2 separate regions of the Homo sapiens genome follow, and region 1 is linked to region 2. Evidence: promoter capture Hi-C in 16 types of primary human blood cells and fetal thymus (Javierre and others, 2016). All regions are on one chromosome and are shown on one strand. The core of a region is centred on a gene start or on the middle of the fragment in contact, and the rest is flanking DNA. Distances in the headings are between cores, read along the strand shown.

Region 1 (7,074 bases), core at 2,280-4,779, 240 kb before region 2:
AAAATCTCTCTTCCTTGCCATTAAGGGATATTCTCTTATATTATTTCATGCCTATCCTCTATTCTCTCAATTTTCTCTACCTGGAATGCATATGAAACAGAATATAGAATTTCTGGATATATTCTTCAGGTGTATTAACTTTTCTTTCATACTTTTAATCTATCATTTGCTTGTATTTTGGGAGAATTTCCCAGTTCTCAGCTTTTATTTTTATTGTTCCCATAGCATCCATTGACTCTTGCTGCACCTTATCAATCCACAACCAAGATACAATTAATCAACCTTGATTAATGAGATTCTCTAGAAACGAAACGATGAGGAGTGTACCATAACCAAGCCTCCCATTTCAACAATGAGCTGGAAGTTAGTGCAATCAGAGGTTGCAGATTCCCAAGCAAAGGAGATTGGAGAATTACAGAAATCACTAAGGAGTTGGTATCACATCAACAGCCAAAGTTGATATTGCTTAATAATCTGTCCCCACCCTTCACTTTCCTATTATACAGCCACAGAGGCTTTCCATCCACAGGGTTCTGTCTGCTTTATAAAATGTCCTTGAGTCTTTCCTACATTAACACCTGCACTAGAAATCAAACATTGATTTATGTAAAGGTTTTCTCCACTTTGGTTATGACAAATGAAGCATAGGATACTCAAAGTTTGGCAAAAGCTCAGGAATTGAGATCCTAGGTTTTTGGAAGAATGGAGACAAAATACAAATATAAAGTAAGGGAGTAAACCTCCATCCCCATCCCTTCTTTGATAAGGTTTTCCTTTCAGAGCTAAAGGCTCTGGAAATATATAAACACTATAATGCCTGATAATGATAGAGAGGGATGGGCAGAAGTTCAGGGGCTATTTTCCCTCGGGTGGTTAGTGGAGCACCTCTAGGAAAGGACCACTCTCAGGAAGGTGGTGCTTTCCCCCACCTGTCTTAGCCTGTTGCGTTGCAATAAAGGAATACATGCGGCTGGGTAATTTATAATAAAAGAGGTTTATTTGGCTCACTGTTCAGCAGGCTGTATAAGAAGCATGGCACCAGCATCAGCTTCTGGTGAGGGGCTCAAGCTGCTTCCACTCACAGCGGAAGGGGAAGGGGGGCTGGCGTGTGCAGAGATCACATGGTGAGAAAGGAAGCAAGAGAGGGAAGGGAGGTGCCTGGCCCTTTTCAACACCAGCTTTCAGGAAAACTCTCTGGGGAACTGATAGAGTGCAAACTAATGAGGATGGCACCATGCCGTTCATGAGGGATCCACCCTTATGACCTAAACCCCTCCCACTAGGCCCCACCTCAAACATTGATGACCAAATTTCAACATGAGACTTGAAGGGGACAAACAAATCGTATGTAAACCATAGCAGCACCCCACCATTCTTTATACTCCTTCCCAGCTTTATTTTTCTTCATATAACTTATTATTGCCTCAAACTGTAGAACTTATTTGTTGACTTTGTTATTGACTGTATGTTCCATGGGAATGTAAGCTTGATGAAGACTGGGACTTTGGCTTAAGTACTGCTGTAGAATACCACTGTATTCCTAGTTTATTGAACACTGCTTGGCACATGGTAACTGCTTAATAAACATTCATTGGATGATTGATTCCATTGGTACACACGGGTTAAGTATAGCCTGAAACTAATTTTTCTCATCCCATGATCTAGAGTTGAAAACTTTTTATATTTTTATTATAAAATATTTTTCATGGTTTCAGAACATTTACTGAAACATACTTTTTTATAAATCAAAACCTTTAAAAATTGTACTTATTGATCTAAGATTTCCTAGCACAAGAAAATATGACTGTCTCATTTTTGGCTCAAGTTCACAGTTTGTTAATTTTTCACATCATTCCATAAAAATGTTAGTCACAAATTACAAACCCAATAATGTAACCATAAAGTTGTCATGATAGTGTTCCAATGTATTGCTCATTTCAGGAACTAGAGGCAGATAGCCCTAGAGTTTAGACTTAGACCTGAACCAAATATTCCTCCTTTGAGAACTTGCTGAGTTGATTTTACTTGTAATCTGTGTGCAGACTAGAGGAGTGGAAATTTCTGCTCTCTCACAAAGACTGTAGACTATTTGCACTTATCAGTTTTCAAAATTCCAGGCTTAATCTGGTTCATGCTAATTATTCCCAGTGTTTCTGCTCAGGCCTATATACCAGTGATGCCAGCTTCATGTAACTGCTGCTGATCGCTCACTCACTCACTCCTTTGAAACCCAAACTTGTCAAAATCATAGAATTTTGTGGGTCTAGCAAACAGCCCCGAGAGATAAGACATATATGGGACAGAATGCCATGACCCCCAAGGACTGTGGCATGTGGGCATTTTCATATGCCAGAAACGTCCTAAGGTTCATGGCATTATTCAAGATAAACCTTTAGGCACTCACACCTGCTCTTTTCAAACTTATGTGACAAAATGAATGTGTCCAGTTCTGGGGCCTGAAGAATCTACTCACCTGACTCTTCAATGTCACTGTGACACATATGAGACTAGGCAGCCTTCTAGACTTGCCAGTGCTTCTGGAAAGCTAGGGAGCCTTCAGGACTTAGTTGACCACATTTCAGCTCTAGCTGTGCACAGGGCTGCCTCCTTTCCTCCAGGTTTGGGTCATCCCTCAAGGATTCGTGCAATCCTCCTTCCTTTTCTCTCATAGAAAATACTGGTCTTTGTGACTAACATTGTACTAAATTATTAGGTTGACATTGAAGAAAAGACATTGCTTTGCAATGGCAATAACCACAACTACTTTTGCACCAACCTAATAGCTTTCCATATGCTTCCATTTCTAGATTCTTAAAATGTGACAACCAGAAGAGCCCCATGGTTCATTCAATTCAATTCCTTACTTTAGAGAGAAGGACATGGTGATTGCCAGAGACCTAAAGCTGGTTAATGGTAGAGCCAGAATCAGAAACAAGATTTCTTGACTCTCCACTGGGGGGCTACTTAGGGCACAGACTAGGTAAGAGTTCTGACTTTTTACCCAAGCATTCCATAAAAGGCTTTTCCTGGTTTTAACCTTTCACTTACTGTAACAGAGGGGATGCTGTGGTGGCCATGCTATGGTGTGTGATGACTTTTTACTCTTATGGACAACACCCCAGTTCTCCTTTCCCAGTCTCTCGTGGCTTTGCAACCATGTGTCCTAAGGATCATCCCTTTTATCTTCTCTGAAAGATCACACACCCTAGGAAGACTTCTGGCCTACTATTCCCTGTGGAGAACTCAGGTACTATAGAGATGTCTCACAAAAAAGAATTTCTGTGTCCTGCAGCTTCTTCTGCATGATAAAAAGGAGGAGTGTAGCTAAATAACAAAAACAAAGATTTCAGGTGTCTGCACCAAAATACATACATTCATTTATTTCTCATTGCAGCAACAAGATAAACAAGTATAATTCCATGGTCAAGGAGTTACAAATAGTAGCAAGCCCAGTAACCTTGAGCATATCTATAAGGCAAATAAAACAAATATTTCTTTCATAGTGTGGGCATCCAACTTTAGATAATCTGGAAAAAAATCACTCTAGCCCCTGAATACCATGATGTGCATGATGTGCAAAATGAAAGTATCACCCAAAATATTTTCAAAGCTAAAAAGAAAATATTTAAATTCAAATACTTTAACCAAATTGGAAATGCAAACAGTACACTTAGAGTCATCCTTAGCCAGCTGTTCTCCAAACAAAAGATCGAGAAACAAAACCAAGAACAATGTAAAAAAGAAAAGGTTTATCTAGAAAAACTGGAAGCTCATCAAAGTCACATTTCTTCTTCTGATTCTTGTTCTCGTTCAGCATTTTTCAGAAGTCCAACTTCTGAGGAGCAGAGCCTCTTAAGTCTAGATTTAACCAACCTGAGGAGAAAGAAAAGCATCTCAAGTTAGACGGTTTTTAAAATAGAAACCCAGAGCAATATGCACCCATTATACCACAAAGTCTAGATTATTTGGGCAACTGGGGAAGGCAACCCAAAAAGGAAAATTACTTTTATTTGGCTTTGGAGCTGCCTGAAAATTTTTGTGGATTAAAGCAGGGTATAAGTAAACAGATACAACGTGGTTTTCCAATGTATTGCATCATTGTTTAATTAGGCCTCAGAAGATAACTTTGCTCATTTCTTTTTCTTTTTCTTTTTCTTTTCTTTTCTATTTTTTTTTATGAGACAGAGTCTTGCTCTGTCACCCAGGCTGGAGTGCAGTGGCGCAATCTTGGCTCACTGCAACCTCCACCTCCCAGGTTCAAGCAATCCTCCTGCCTCAGCCTCCTGAGTAGCTGGAATTAGAGGCATGTATCATCACACCCAGCTAATTATTATTTTTTTTTAAACGGAGTTTTGCTGTGTCATCCAGGCTGGAGGCTGGAGTGCAGTGGCACAATCTCAGCTCACTGCAACCTCTGCTTCCCGGGTTCAAGCAATTCTCTGCCTCAGCCTCCTGAGTAGCTGGAATTACAGACGCCCACCACCACGCCCAGCTAATTTTTTTGTATTTTTAATAGAGATGGGGTTTCACCATCTTGGCCAGGCTGATCTTGAACTCCTGACCTCGTGATCCACCTGCCTCGGCCTCCCAAAGTGCTGGGATTACAGGCGTGAGCCACTGTGCCCAGCCAATTTTTTTTATATTTTTAGTAGACAAGGGGTTTCTCCATGTTGGTCAGGATGGTCTCGAACTCCTGAACTCAAGTGATCTGACCGCCTCAGCCTCCCAAAGTGCTCCGATTATAGGCATGAGCCACCGTGCCCAGCCAACTTTGATCATTTCTAAAACAATTAAGAGAATCGCTGGGCTGTGGCAAGCCCAGATGAAACCAAGCTCAGTTGAGTTTCTCCATAAAAGCCACATCTAACTGTGTATTGCAAACAGGTGCTATATCATATAAAGGAAGTGCATGAAGCCCGCCTCTAGGGTTGGCAGCCCAAGTCAAGGCCCACGTCAAGTCTGGGCTAAATTCAGCCCCTACTTCCTGCTACTAGCCCCTTCCAGGGGGAGCTTTTGTGCAGGGAACAAGCTGTTCAACTGCATGTGATGCCTCTGCCATGATGAATTAAGAAGCTCAAAGAAGTACCCTCCATCCTGGTGACTGTTTTCATAGTTTAAGAGAATCTGGGCTGGGCATGGTGGCTCATGCCTATAATCCCAGCACTGTGGGAGGCAAGGCGGGCAGATCGCCTGTGGTCAAGAGTTCAAGACCAGACTGGCCAACATGGCAAAACTCCGTCTCTACTAAAAATACAAAATTAGCTGGCCATGGTGGCACATGCCTGTAATCCCAGCTACTCAGGAGGCTGAGGCAAGAGAATCTCCTGAGTCCAGGCGGTGGAGGTTGCAGTGAGCTGAGATCACGCCACTGCACTCCAGCCTGGGCGACAGAGCAAGTCTCCATCTCAAAAAAAAAAAAAAAAAAAAAAAAAAAGAGAATCCATAGGCCTGGGGGAAGCACGGATTATAATTTTTGACACTAGAAGATGTGACACTGATTAGCAGCTGAAGCTCAGCAGGCTCTCCACTTCTCTGATGTGAGAAAGAGTGTCATAAGAACTAGGCAAAGCTTTTCCTGTGCATCATTATTATAAAGGCATTGTGCTGTGACCATATCAACAAAGCATAGTTAACTCCCAGAAATACATAGGAATATGCAAACAAATTTGATAAGCCAAATCACCAATATCACTCTTCACAAATGAAAAATTTCACCAGTCTACCTGCATCTTTACCCTTATTTTCTGCTATATTTTTTCTGATGAAAGTCTGGCCTGCCTGTATCAATATGTAATGGCTTTACTTGTGCTCTGAGAGGGGTTTTTGAAATACTTCTGTGGAACTAACTTAAGCTATTGCTTAAGTTTATATCAAAATATATCAGAAAATTTAACCCTTGGTCTTATCTTTTCAAGAACAATATGACAGTAAAATTGAAAAGTATATAAAACATGATTTCAAAACAAATGAAGCCTATATTTAAAGAGCTCTGCAACATAAATCTATTATCTATTAAAACAGCAAACAAGGGTTTATTGAGAATCTACTATATGTTTGGCAGTGTGCCAAGAGGTGTGGGAAATATGGAAAGGGTCTCATACTCAAGGAGACACAATCTAGCCAGTAGATAACACTAACCCACATGACCTAATAGTGAACATCACAGGAGAGATCCCAATTGTTAAAATGCATGGTGAAGACGACGGGCTGTAAAAATTCTTGGAGGGACCTCTGGTAGAATTCGGCTGTGAATCCATCTGGTCCTGGACTTTTTTTGGTTGGTAAGCTATTGATTATTGCCTCAATTTCAGAGCCTGTTATTGGTCTATTCAGAGATTCAACTTCTTCCTGGTTTAGTCTTGGGAGGATGTATGTGTCGAGGAATTTATCCATTTCTTCAGGATTTTCTAGTTTATTTGCATACAGGTGTTTATAGTACTCTCTGATGGTAGTTTGTATTTCTGTGGGATCGGTGGTGACATCCCCTTTATCATTTTTTATTGCGTCTATTTGATTCTTCTCTCTTTTCTTCTTTATTAGTCTTGCTAGCAGTCTATCAATTTTGTTGATGTTTTCAAAAAACCAGCTCCTGGATTCATTAATTTTTTGAAAGGTTTTTTGTACCATTCCTTCTGAAACTATTCCAATCAATAGAAAAAGAGGGAATCCTCCCTAACTCATTTCATGAGGCCAGCATCATCCTGATACCAAAGGCTGGCAGAGACATAACCAAAAAAGAAAATTTTAGACCAATATCCTTGATGAACATGGATGCAAAAATCCTCAATAAAATACTGGCAAACCGAATCCAGCAGCACATCAAAAAGCTTATCCACCATGATCAAGTGGGCTTCATCCCTGGGATGCAAGGCTGGTTCAACATACACAAATCAATAAATGTAATCCAGCATATAACAGAACCAACGACAAAAACCACATGATTATCTCAATAGATGCAGAAAAGGCCTTTGACAAAATTCAACAACCCTTCATGCTAAAAACTCTCAATAAATTAGGTATTGATGGGACGTATCTCAAAATAATAAAAGCTATCTATGAAACCCATAGCCAATA
Region 2 (7,351 bases), core at 1-2,500:
GGCAAACAGATATTTTGAGCTGTTATCAGAACAGCAGATAAATCCACTAAACGTCTCCCCTCCATTTCCCAGCGTTAAGCCATTCTCCCTCCTCAGCTTCCCAAGTAGTTTGGGACTAAAGGGGCGTGCCACCACACCGGGCTAATTTTGTATTTTTTAGTACAGACAAGGTGTCGCCATGTTGCCCAGGCTGGTCTCCAACTCTTGACTCGTGAACTCAAGCGATCCTCGTGCCTCAGCTTCCCAAACTGTTGGGATTACAGGCGTGAGCCACGTGCCGGGCCATGTCTGTGCTTCCGAGGGTGGGAAAGATAAAGCTCACCATGGCTACGCTGATGGCTTCCTCTCCTACACATCTCACCCACAAGGGCGGGGTCCTCAACTAAGCTTAGGACTGCCTATCATTCTGCAAATGACCCACTCTACAGACATGCTGCAGCAGGGAAACCCCGCCACTGGGCAGTTCCTCATGCTGAGGAGGAGACGCCCGTCACTCCATCTCATCTGTAAAGTGAAGACTTTTAAGGCTGCCCTAATATTCATCATAATCTAACAACGAAGACCTTACCAAGGGGCGGAAAAAAAGAATAAAATACTGTGAGCGAAGGAAACAACAAAGGAATAACATTTAAAGCAATGTGCCAGGTCCTTCACACATTAACATCATTGTGTGAGGTATCATTAACATCATTTTACAAATAAAGAAACAGGGGACTTGCAGGGGGAAAGCTGCACAAAGTCACTGAACAAAGTAAGTGACACAGCAAGAATCCAAGTCAAAATCTGGAGCTGGAAAGTGAGTGGGGAGACGAAGAACCGCCTGGGCACCTTTGTGCAGGGCGGGGCTGGAGGAGGTCACGCAACTTGAAAACACCCAAGGGAGTTGGATCCTACCACCGCGGCCCACACCGTGGAGAAATACACGTCCATCAGCCTCTGTCAAGCAGGACGCGGCGGGTGCCGGCGCGGCCGGGTGGCCTGGTGCTTTCTGGGCCTCGCCCGCCACCCCGGAAGCCTGGAATCCCGGGAGTGCGCCCGGCCGCCCGGCCACGCGATCCCGGACCCACGCGGACGCCCGCCTCAGGGAAGGCCGCGCACGGCGGGGACGCGGGGCGGAGGGGCTGAGCCGGCCGAGCCACCGCCGGCGCCGCTCCAAAGCCTCCCCCGCGGCCCGAACTCGAGCTGCAGCGCGCGGCCGCGCCACTTACAGGTCATGACTCTGCAGACAAGCACCACCTGCGGCGCGGACTGAGCGCTGGAGATCCGGCGGACCGCGGCGTCGCTACGGTGGGGCGGGGACCGCGTCAGAGGCCCCGCCCCACCCCTCCTCCTGGCCCCGGCCGGGAGGAGAGAAGGGTCTGCGTTCATTCCAGTGCGCCTGTAACACCAGGACGGACCAACGAGAAATGGTTAATTGCAACACAGTCCGGAAAAAGCATGCCTCGAAAGGCAAAGGGCAAAAGGGAACGGCCTAAGTCGAGGTGGTGTGCTGGTGAATGTCTTAACAACCAGACTTTTCAGGGAGGAAAGCCCTGATTTGTAGCGTTTGCTGATTCTCCGCAAAAGGACTGAACTTCTAGCTGGTTGAATCACCTCTGTGGCCAGGTTAACACCGTATGCTGATGGGCTTGAGCTATTTGAACAAGTCTCTGTGACGGGGACGGAATGACCCTGGTTGGTTTAGGCACGCGAGACGTCTGTAAAATCTGACTACAAGGCTGCTAGGCCAACGGGAAAGATGCTGAGGGTTCAACGCCATGCCCTCAACAAGTCAGTCCTCGAATACATTGTCATCTCTTTGCTAATATCCTTTTTTGTTTGTTTGTTTTAGACAGGGTCTCACTCTGTCATCCAGTCAGGAGTGCAGTGCAGCAGTCTCAGCCCATTGCAGCCTCAACCTCCCGGCTCAAGCGATCCTCCGTCCTCAGCCTCCCAAGTAGCTGGGACTACAGGCACACACCACCACACCTAGCTATTTCTTTTCCTTTTTTCTTTTTCTTTCTTTCTTTCTTTTTTTTTTTTTTTTAAGTTTTTTACTTTTAATAGAGGTGGGGCCTTGCTATTTTGCCCAGGCTGGTCTCAAACTCCTGAGCTCAAGACCCTACTGCCTTAGCCTCCCAAAGTGCTGGAATTATAGGCGTGAGCTGCTGCGCCCAGCCTATAGACTATGATTTTTGCATTTTTATTTATTAGATTGCTTTTTAATTTTCGTGTTTTGTGTTTTTGTGCCTTGTCAGACTTGTGGAACAAAAATCCAAAACTTAACCACCTTTTGGAATGCCCCAGAATAGTTTATACTGAAACAGATCTTGGTTTGTAAAAGAACACTATAAAAACATTTTGGGGGCAACTAGGGAGATTTAAATATGAACGAGATATTTGATGCTTTTCTGAATTATTTTGTGTGCTATAGTGTTGTGCTTGTGACAATTCTTTACTCTTAGAAAATGAGGAAGTATTAGGGATGAACCATCAGAATGTTTGACTTGAAAATCGTCAGCAAAAAGAAAACACATAAGATAAAGCAAATATGGCAAAATGTTAATTATTAAATCTAGGAGGAGGACACAGCTGTTCATGGTACTAGATTAAAACTTTGTAGAAGTTTAAAATTTTAAGCTTTCATAAAAAAAAATTGGGGGGAAATACATAGCAGTTATGGTCTTTCTGCAGCTTAAGAGACTATCTGGACTTGGCTTTGTAGCAGGAAGATCTTTAAAAACCTTTTCATTTCTGCTATGCTTATTAACCTATGAGGTTTCAGGGTCAACCTGTGGTCACTTACAACCTGTTAAAAAAATTCATCTAGATTTCCAAATTTATTGGACTAACATTGTAACTAATAGTGGTCCTAAACCTGGCTGGAAATGTTATTTGAAGTGCTTGTTCAAAATGCAAATTATTTCATTTTTTTAGAAGTGGATTCTTACAGTGTTGCCCAGGCTGGTCTCAAACTCCTAGGCTCAAGTGATCCTCCCACTTTGGCTTCAAAAAGTGCTGGCCTTATAGGCATGAGCCATGGCATCCAGGTGGAGATGCCCAGTAGGCAACCGGACCAAAGCCTCAAGCTCAGAAGATGTCTGGGCTGGAAATTGACTTGGGAGTCACCAGCAGTTTTAACTAAGAGGAAGCTCTGAATTTGGATGAGAACACACAAGCGGAGTATGAAAGGCACACGCAAAAGAAGAAGGGCCTGTGGAGCCTGGGAAGGAGCCATTAGAGGAGAAGGACCAGGCCGGGCGCCACTGCCTGGTGGAGGAACAGCTGTGTCCTCCTCCTAGATTTAATAATTAACATAATCCCAGCACTTCAGGAGGTGGAGGCAGGTGGATCAAGAGGTCAGGAGCTCGAGACCAGCCTGACCAGCATGGTGAAACCCCGTCTCTACTAAAAATGCAAAAATTAGCTGGGCGTGGTGGCACACACCTGTAATCCCAGCTACTCAGGAGGCTGAGACAGCAGAATCACTTGAACCTGGGAGGCGAATGTTGCGGTGAGCCGAGATTGTGCCACTGCACACCAGCCTGGGTGACAGAGCCAGACTCCATTAAAAAAAAAAAGAGAGAGAGAGAAGCAGGACCAGGAGAAGGCCATCAAGACCAAAAGCCTATGGGTACTGTGTCCCTCTGTCACATGCAGGGAAACTGCTGACTTGGGCACTAGGGGTGTTCCTAGAAAAGGAAAAGCTAAATGAAAGTGCGCTTTTTAAACCTTTCTTTAGAACTTTCTGGGCACAATGGAAAAGCTAGTCACTGGGTTCTGGTTCTGGCTCTGACACTGATTAGATGTTAATACCTAGGGCAAATCACCTCACCCTCAGGACCTTTTCCTCACCTGTATGTGAAAGGATTTAGAGGCAAAGGAAGAAGAATCTGGCTGAAGGGTGAAGTTTGTGCAGCCCTCCCCACCACCACTCCCCTCACTGTCCCTTCTCTGCAGCAGCTCTGCCTTCGTTTCCATGTTCCTGTTCATCTGACGTATGAAAATAGGCCAAAAAACAAAACTACCAGGCCAAATGGATCTTGAAAGCCCAGCTAAAAATCTGGTGTGCCTTTTCAGTCTCTATTCTCATTTCTACCCATGTCTCACAGGCTTAATGACCATTTCCAGGCTGTTACTAGTCAGATTTTTATTTTTACTCCAGAGGACCTATTTCAACATCTCCGGCTGCCGCCATCTCTATTTACATGTCTCAACATCAGTTCCAACTCAACTATGTGAAACTAAATGTATCACCTCCAAAAGAGCTTCTCCACCCAGCACTTACAGGCACCACAATTTATGCCCAGTTTTCTAATTCTCCCTGCTTTCCAGCCCTCCAAGAAAACCTAAGTCACTTCAGTGACTTTCGAGTCTTTCATTCCCCACCTCTGGTAAGGGACAGGGCTCTTCTTACTCTCAGGAAATGTCCCTGATTCCTCCTTTCAGTTCCCACCACCACCGTCCACAGGTAGGCCTTCCTCACCTTGGGGAGACTGCTACAGGCACTTCCTAACTGGTCTCTCCTTTCCATCAGCATTCCTCCAGCTGCCGCTTCATAGTATGAGGTGAGTCTAGGGGAACGTGAGCTCAGTTTTTGGGGGAGAGGTGGATATGTGTTCCAGGAAAACTCTCCGTGTTTTTCCTCTGCTCTTACATCACCACCACAACAATCATCATCACAGAAGAATTCTGGGACCAAATGTGAGGGGGTTCCTCCCTACCACCAAGCAGCGGACACCAGCTGGGTATCCTCCTATTCAATTCCAACACTGTCTACCTGAGGAAGACACACCGGCACCAGTCATATGTCTTGGACTCCAGAACTTCTGACCAACCACTTTCAAGTTGGGGTTGCCATGATCCCATCTTTGGGTTTGAATAACTTGCTGGAGCAGCTCACAGAACTCATGGAAACATGTTTCCTGGTTTATTATAAAGGATGTTGCAAAGGCTACAAGGAAGAGATGTGTAGGGCAAAGTATGGGAGGAGGGGCACAAAGCTTCCATGCCCTCCAGAACCTCCACGAACGTGGTCAGCTATCTAGAAGCTCTCCAAACCCAGTTCTATTGGCCTTTATGGGAACTTTATGTTATCAGCATTCCTTCCTCCAAGGGATGGGGCAGGAGCTCTCAGGAGGTATTTAAGACCCACAATCAGCAAGATTAGAGTTCTGCCTTGGGGCAGGTGAAAGGAGAGCAGGAGAGGCCAGAGAGATTCTGTTTCCTGAGGCCTGCCCCTGAGGCCTAACACAACTGGCATTATAACAAAAGACTTAACAAGGCTATGGGAGTCAGGGACCGTGCTTGAAAATGTGTGTATGTATGTGTGTGTATACCTCGTAACACCACAATACGCAAGTGACTTACAGCAGTCAGAAATTAGGGGCTGAAAATCAGAATTGCAGTCATTTGCAAAGAATAAGAGAAGAAATCTATGAGTAGATGCAATCGGAGAAGGAAAGAGTATACTACAGAAAGCAAAGGATCAAACTTGGGAATTATCATATTGGGTTAGAACTGTGTACAGGGAGGAGTCAAAGAGTGTGTATGCATCTAAATATACACATAAATGCATAGATACACAGAATTTTTAAATTTCTGATGCAGTTCTCTGCAAATCAGGAGACCTGAGTTCAAAACTTTGCTGACACACCATGTAACTTTGGACAAGTTACTTAACGTTGGGAGACCAATTTAATATACCCACGTGGGTTAGACAGGTAACTGAGTAAAGCTGGCAACCTGAAGAGAAAAGCAAACACTGAGAAGGCCACTAGCTCTCGCCTGCTGTTTCCAGGACAGCAAACAGCAAAGAGGTGGCACAGTATAGCAGTTATAACCATGAACTCTTTTGTGTGGATGTTAAGTTTTCATTTCCCTAGGGTAAATACCTAGGAGAGGGATTGCCGGGTTGTATAGTAAACATATGTTTATTTACAAGAAATGGCCAAACTGTTGTCTAGAGTGTCTGTACCATTTTGTACACCCACCAGCAATGTATGAATGTTCTAGTTATTCCATATCCTCACCAGCACTTGGTATTGTCATTTTTTGTTTTTAATTTTAGCCATTCTAACTGGTGTGGTTTTGATTTACATTTCCCCAACAGCTAATGATGATCTTTTCACATGCCTATTTGCCACCCATCTTTCTCTGAAGAATTGCTTCTTTTCCCCATTGTTTTGTTTTCTTATTGTTGTAGTGAAAATCTTTATATATTCTGAACACAAATCCTTTGTTGGTATGTTTTGCAAGTACAGTATTTTTCCCCAGTATGTAGCTTGTCTTTCCCTTCTATTAAGTGTCTTTTGCAGAGCAAAATTTTTAAATTTAAGATTTTTTTTTTTTTTTTTTTGAGATGGAGTCTCTCTCTGTCACCCAGGCCGGAGTGCAGTGGTGATCTCGGCTCACTGCAACCTCTGCCTCCCAGAGTCAAGTGATTCTCTTATCTCAGCCTCCCAAGTAGCTGGGATTACAGGCGCACGCCACCAAGCCCGACTAATTTTTGTATTTTTAGTAGAGAGGGGGTTTCACCTTGCAGGCCAGGCTGGTCTCAAACTCCTGACCTCGTGATCTGCCCGTCTCGGCCTCCCAAAGTGCTGGGATAATAGACATGATTCATTCTTATGGATTGTGCTTTTCATATGTCTAAGAACTATGGCCTAACCCAAGATCATGAAAATTTTCTCCTGTTTTCTATTAGTTTTATAGGTTTACATTGCACATTTAGCTGTATGATGCATTGAGTTAATTTTTGTATAAGGTTTGAGGTATATAGGTTGAGATTAATTTCTTTGTATATGGGTATCTAGTTGTTCCAACAGTGTATGTTGAAAAGACTATCCTTTCTCTATTGAATTGCCTTTGAAACTTTGCTCAAAACAACTGCCCATTATTTGTGGGGGTCTATTTTTTTCATTTTATTTATTTATTTTAGTTGTTTTATTTCCATAGGTTATTGGGGAACAGGTAGTGTTTGGTAACCTGAGTAAGTTCTTTAGTGGTGATTTGTGAAATTTGGGTACACCCATCACCCGAGCAGTATATACTGCACCCAATTTGTAGTATTTTATCCTTCACCCCCTTCCCACTCTTTCCCCGAGTCCCCACAGTCCATTGTCTCATTCTTATGCCTTTGCATCCTCATAGCTTAGCTCCTACTTATGAGTGAGAACATACGATGTTTGGTTTTCCATTCCTGAGTTACTTTACTTAGAAAAATAGTCTCCAATATTATCCAGGTCGCTGCGAATGCCATTCATTCATTCCTTTTTATGGCTGAATATCATATATATATATATATCTCACAGTTTCTTTATCCACTCATTGATTGATGGGCATTTGGGTTGGTTCCACATTTTTGCAATTG

The links. Contacts are between HindIII fragments. The CHiCAGO score rates a contact against its expected background, and 5 or more counts as called.
Region 1: a fragment that was not itself captured here is called in contact with the fragment with the promoter of NIT2 in region 2 in 1 of 17 cell types (naive CD4 T cells); the score reaches 5.1 in naive CD4 T cells.

Annotation. Positions count from the first base shown.
Region 1 is chr3:100,573,724-100,580,797 of GRCh38, reverse strand. TMEM45A (transmembrane protein 45A) reads right to left here. Exons shown (of 6, transcript NM_018004.3): 6 at 3,354-3,873. The coding sequence ends at 3,780. Among named protein-coding and RNA genes, the nearest start is that of ADGRG7, 32 kb to the left of the region's middle. The HindIII fragment of the contact is 4,084 bases long and covers 1,488-5,571 here.
Region 2 is chr3:100,328,656-100,336,006 of GRCh38, reverse strand. It overlaps NIT2 (nitrilase family member 2), which reads right to left and starts at 1,250. Exons shown (of 10, transcript NM_020202.5): 1 at 1,209-1,250. The coding sequence starts at 1,215. RefSeq lists silencers at 228-522, 921-1,250 and enhancers at 491-570, 691-750, 771-820, 914-1,482. The HindIII fragment of the contact is 2,232 bases long and covers 390-2,621 here.